Linked DNA regions of Homo sapiens: region 1 is linked to region 2. The links are contacts of gene promoters, found by promoter capture Hi-C in human tissues and cell types (Jung and others, 2019). All regions are on one chromosome and are shown on one strand. The core of a region is centred on a gene start or on the middle of the fragment in contact, and the rest is flanking DNA. Distances in the headings are between cores, read along the strand shown. Region 1 overlaps LINC01841 (long intergenic non-protein coding RNA 1841). Region 2 holds the start of DCAF15 (DDB1 and CUL4 associated factor 15).

Region 1 (2,848 bases), core at 231-2,730, 390 kb after region 2:
GTATTTTTAGTAGAGACGGCGTTTCACCATGTTGGCCAACCTGGTCTCGAACTCCTGACCTCAGGTGATCTGCCCGCCTCAGCCTCCCAAAGTGCTGGGATTACAGGCGTGAGCCACCGTGCCCAGCCTATTCTTTATAGTTCTCCACCTATTTGACTGATTATATCCCTGACATAAATTCCTAGAGGTGGATTTGCTGGGTCAGAGAATCCACATGCTTAAAGGTTTAATACTAATATCTAGAACACCATCCCAAGAAAGTTGTATCGTGGCCGGGTGCGGTGGCTGACATCTGTAATCCTAGCACTTTGGGTGGCCGAGGAGGGAGGATCACTTGAGATCAGGAGTTTGAGACCAGCCTGGGCAAGTCGTGAGACCCCATGTTACAAAAAGTTTTTAAAAAATTAGCTGGGTGTGGTGACCTGTACCTGTAGTCAGCTATTTGGCAGGCTGAGGTGGGAGGATTCCTTAAGCCTAGGAGGTTGAGGCTGCAGTGAGCCGTGATTGTGCCACTGCACTCCAGCATGGGTGACATAGTGAGACCCTGTCTCAAAAAATTAAAAAAAAAAAAGTTGTGTCAATTTAAACTCCCATGACCGTGCTCAAGTGTGCATTCCCAAAACTTCACACACACTCATAAGCTTGACAAGGAAAAGTGATTCTTCAGCTGAACGGTCAGATTGAGCATCTTTACAGAGGTTTGTTAAGCTCTCACTCCTTTGTGAACCCCCTATTCAAGCCCTGTGCCAATTTCACATTTGGGATGTTTGTCTTTTTTTTCTTATTGATTCATATGTGCTTTTTGTATATTAAGGCTCTTAATGATTTGTCTGCCATATACGTGGCAAACAATCTAATCTCCCTTGATCTTTTCTTTTCCTTTTTTTTCTTGAGATAGAGCCTCACTCCGTTGCCCAGGCTGGAATGCAGTGGCACCATAATAGCTCACCGCAATCACTGCAGCATCAACCTCCTGGGCTCAAGCCATCCTCCTGCCTCAGCCTCCTGAGTAGCTGGGACCACAGGTGTGTGCCACCATGCCCAGATAAATTTTTAAAAATTATTTTTGTAGGGATGGGGTCTCACTATGTTGCCCAGGCTGGCTATCTCCTCTGATCTGGGACTCCAGCTAGATCTCCTTTTATTGCCCAACTGGCCTCAATGAACATTTCTCTTCTGTCTAGGCCTCATTGCAGGTTGCATTTTATTGGCGGTTCCTCCAGAAACAAAAGCAGAGACTTTGAGATCTTATGAACCTCAGTCTTACCCAGAACACTTGAAGAACCCTTCAGCTTTCCATGGCAAGAAAGCTCAGGCCCTGGGGCCAGAAGCCACGGCTTTGTGTCTGGGTTCTGTAGTTTACTGCTATGGCTCCAGTTTCTGATTCCTCCAAGTTAAGATGGGTTGGTAAATTCTGCCACGCAGAATGCGCTTCTAGCCACGCCCACTGTGTATCAAACCATGCCCACTGTACATAAACCACGCCCTCTCATCTAGCTACGCCCACCAATCGTCTAGCCACGCCCACCTTCGAGTGGAGAGGTGTGATTAGAGCATTAAAGAGAGAGGCGTGATTAGAGCATTAAAAAGAAGTGAAGAACCGAAATAGTGAGGATCCTGGGCCAGGGGGAGGAGGAGGGAGAAGATCCCCTGGCCTCGATGGCTGGCAATTCCTTCATGCCCCTAGCACCCACCTGGTTAAAGAAAGGATAGCTGGGCGCAATGACTCACTCCTGTAATCCCAGCACTTTGGGAGGCCGAGGCAGGCAAATCTTGAACTTGAGGCCAGGAGTTCAAGACCAGCCTGATCAACATGGCAAAACCCCATCTCTACTAAAAATACAAAAATCAGCCGGTGTGGTCGTGTATGCCTGTAATCCCAGCTACTCAAGAGGCTGAGGCACGAGAATCGCTTGAACTCAGCAGGCGAAGGTTGCAGTGAGCCGAGATCACACCACTTCACTCCAGCCTGGGCAACAAAGCAAGACTGTCTCAAAAAAAAAAAAAAAAAAAGAAAAGAAAAGAAAAGAAAAAAGAAAAAGAAAATAAAAAAAAGAAAGAAGGAGGCACCTGGCTACTGTATTCCACCTTTCTCCTCACCCACTCTTTTTTTTTTTTTTTTTTTTGAGACGGAGTCCTTCTCTGTCATCCAGGCTGGAGTACAGTGGCACCATCTCGGCTCACTGCAACCTCCGCCTCCTGAGTTCAAGCTATTCTCCTGCCTCAGCCTCCCAAGTAGCTGGGACTACAAACACGCACCACTACCTCCGGCTAATTTTTGTATTTTTAGTAGAGATGGGGTTTTGCCATGTTTTTCAGGCTAGTCTTGAACTCCTGACCTCAAGTGGTCCGCCCGCCTCAGCCTCCCAAAGTGCTGGGATTACAGGTGTGAGCCACCACGCCCGGCCCTCACCCGCTCTTTAAAATATCCCTACCAGGGTCAATGGTTTATCTGTGCCTCAGTGTTCCCATCTGTAAAATGAGGATAATTTTAAGGATTACCTGAGTTAGCATCTGTGAAGGGGTTAGAATGGTACCTGGCACATAGTAGGCACTCAATAAATGGCATCACTGATATGGTTCCACGGATGGTTGTATTATTAATAGGAATAAAGTGTGGGATGGAAAAACGTTGCTCTGGGCACCTGGAACCAGCCCCAGGGGCACGTGGGGCTCTACACAGGCTCTTTACCCCATGCCAGCGGGAGGACACTTTGGGGGGAAACTGAGGCACTGACAATCCCCTGCCTTCCCAGCCCTGAGTCCTTCTCACCCATGCCCAGAGCCTCAGAGGCCAGCAAGGTGCCCCAAGGGAAAGCGACACTTCTGAACTGCGCTGCCTGGCACA
Region 2 (2,700 bases), core at 167-2,666:
TGATATATTTTTAAAAAACCATATTTTGGTCTTAGGTTTTCTAGTACATAACTCCTAAAACCCTTGAAATCAGCTGGGCACAGTGGTTTATGCCTGTAATCCCAGCACTTTGGGAGGCCAAGACGGGATGATCCCTTGAGGTCAGGAGTTTTCGAGCAGCCTGGGCAACATAGTGAGACCCCATCTCTACAAAAAAAATTTTTTTAATGAAGACAATAAAAAAAAACTATCTTCTAGATTGTTCAGAGGATTAAATGGGCTGGCCAGGGGTGGGGGCTCACACCTGTCCTCCCAACACTTTGGGAAGCAGAGGTGGGAGGATCACTTGAGCCCAGGTGTTGGAGACCAGCCTGGACAACTTGGTGAAACTCCGTCCCTACAAAAAATACAAAAAATTAGGCCGGGCGCGGTGGCTTATGCCCGTAATTCCAGCACTTTGGGAGGCCTAGGCGGGCGGATCACCTGAGGTCAGGAGTTCGCAACCAGCCTGGCCAACATAGTGAAACCTCGTCTCTACTAAAAATACAAAAAATTAGGCAGGCGTGGTGGCGCACGCCTGTAGTCCTAGCTACATGAGAGGCTGAGGTGAGAGGATCATCTGAGCCCGGGGTCGAGGCTGCAGTGAACCGTGATCACGCCACTGCACTCCAGCCTGGGTGACAAAGTGAGACTCTGTCTAAAAAAATAAAATAAATGAGGTAATGTATACGAATATGATGCACGGAGCGGACCTTCAACAATTATTTTTATTGCTATGATCTGCATAATTGGCACAACAGGGCCCTGCCACATCGAACTGTTTAAGCTCAGAACCGTGTCTGTCACATGTGGAGCGATCCATGATTGATGCTATCATTATCACCACCATCATCCCACCAACCCGCCCATCGGAAACAAGCTTTCATCGAATCCCATCGTTTTTTCCTTTTTTGTAAATCTCTTTCCTCGGCCTGGCTCTGCCGCCCAAGTATGCTCGTCAGGCCTTTGCCCACCTGGACCGGGCGCGGGCAGCCCGGGGCTGAGGATTCTCGAGCCTTGGTGGACCACAGGCTCCCGTCGCCCCGCCCAAGGGCCTGGACCGCCTGTGGTCTCCATGGAAACCCGCCAGCCACAGGGGGCGTGACGCCGTTGAGACAGACAGAGATATTCACCTATCAGATCAAAGTTATCTGGGCAGGGCGAACAAACGGGACCTCCGAGTGGTACGTCCTTAAGGCGGGGCGGGAATACGGCAACGGGCCGCGGGGGCTGTTACTGTCGCTACCAATCAAGAGTCGAGATGGCTTTGATGGACAGGCATAGCGCGAGTGCGGGCTTTCGCCCAACCGGCGGGCCGCTGTCCCGAAAAAGGACCAATGAGGAGGCGGCAGGGGTGGGGCGAAGGGGCCGGTTGCTCCGGAAGTGGAGGGAGGGGGTGAAAATGGCGCCCAGCTCGAAATCGGAGCGGAACAGCGGGGCTGGGAGCGGCGGCGGCGGCCCCGGGGGAGCCGGAGGGAAGCGGGCAGCAGGGCGGCGGCGGGAGCACGTCCTCAAGCAGCTGGAGCGGGTCAAGGTGAGGCCTGGAGCCGGAGTGGGGAGCGCGCCGGAGGGTGGGGAGTAGGGACGAGGGAGGCGGAGGGAGGAGGGCGTTCGCGGGGTGAGGGGTTGGGGGCGGGGCCCCAGGGGAGGGGGCTCGGATGCAGGGCCTGGGCGGGGCCCGGGGGAGATGGCTTGGATGGAGGGGGCTCAGTTGGGGGCCTGGATGCAGGTGGTTGTGTCGGGTGACCGGCAAAGGGGCTGGGATGGAGGGGGTTGGGGGCGGGGCCCCAGGGAGGGGGCTCGGAGGGAGGCGACCCCAGAGGCCGCAGGGAGAATCAGGAGGAAGGGGGCGATCCAGGCTTTTCAAAGCTCTGCTCCCATGGTTGCTCCATAATGGAACCTTCCCGCCCCCTTTGCAGAGCCCCTGCCGCTGGCTTTGGGCTTCCTCCGCCTGATGTTCCTCTCCCTGCCCAAGCCCCGACCACACATGAGCTGGGAGTTCCAGTACCTGGGTGGGCCTCCCCATTGAAAGTGTGGGAGCTCCCTGGATAGGGCTGAGTCTTCCCCCGCAGAGTGAGAGTTACCGAAGCAGGCTCTGTCTCCTCCATCAGACTGGAAACTCCCAGAGCTGGGGGATGATGTCTCTCTCCCCCATCAGTTTGGGAGCTCTGGAGGGCAGAAATGTGGATCTCTTGCAGGTGGGCAGTAACTGGGGCAAGGCTGTGTCTCTGTGGACAGGGACTGCGCCTTCTCCGTGAGGCTGGTAGCTTTGTAAGGGCAGTGCTGTGTCTCCCCCTTTTGACTGGGAGCTCCCTGGGCTGGGACAGTCTCCGCCCTTAGCCTGGGAGCTCCCTGGGCTTGGCTGTGGTTCCGCCCTTAGCTTGGAAGCTCCTTGGGCAGGGACTGTGTCTCCCCTGTCGGCCTGGGCCTGGCTGGCCAGGCTGTTTCCTCCGTCAGACTGAGACCTCCATGTGGACAGGGCTGTCTCCCATCAGACAGGGAGCTTCCCAGACAGGACTCTTCCCATCAGATTGGAATGTCTTGAAGGCAGAGTTGGGTAGCAAGACTGAGGCTGTTCGGATATCCCTGTGCCTGGCTTCTGCCTGTCAGTCCCCGCAGATCCTTCCGCGGTGAAGTTTTGGGGATGAGGGATTCCCTTGGATTCCGTTGGAAGGCGGTAGT

Evidence for each region. The method cuts DNA at HindIII sites, captures the fragments that hold promoters and counts their contacts. A contact is called where the count stands out against the background at its distance.
Region 1: a fragment that was not itself captured here is called in contact with the fragment with the promoter of DCAF15 in region 2 in 3 of the 25 tissues and cell types used here (dorsolateral prefrontal cortex, lymphoblastoid cells and spleen).

Annotation. Positions count from the first base shown.
Region 1 is chr19:14,336,190-14,339,037 of GRCh38, forward strand. All of the region lies in intron 1 of LINC01841 (long intergenic non-protein coding RNA 1841), which reads right to left. The region is part of intron 1 of LINC01842 (long intergenic non-protein coding RNA 1842); the gene reads left to right. Among named protein-coding and RNA genes, the nearest start is that of LINC01842, 3.9 kb to the left of the region's middle. RefSeq lists a silencer at 1,394-1,594 and enhancers at 2,291-2,791, 2,792-2,848. The HindIII fragment of the contact is 5,959 bases long and covers 1-2,848 here.
Region 2 is chr19:13,951,093-13,953,792 of GRCh38, forward strand. DCAF15 (DDB1 and CUL4 associated factor 15) reads left to right here and starts at 1,417. Exons shown (of 13, transcript NM_138353.4): 1 at 1,417-1,552. The coding sequence starts at 1,421. It also overlaps a transcript of PODNL1 not described here. RefSeq lists an enhancer at 790-839 and a silencer at 1,500-1,639. The HindIII fragment of the contact is 40,615 bases long and covers 1-2,700 here.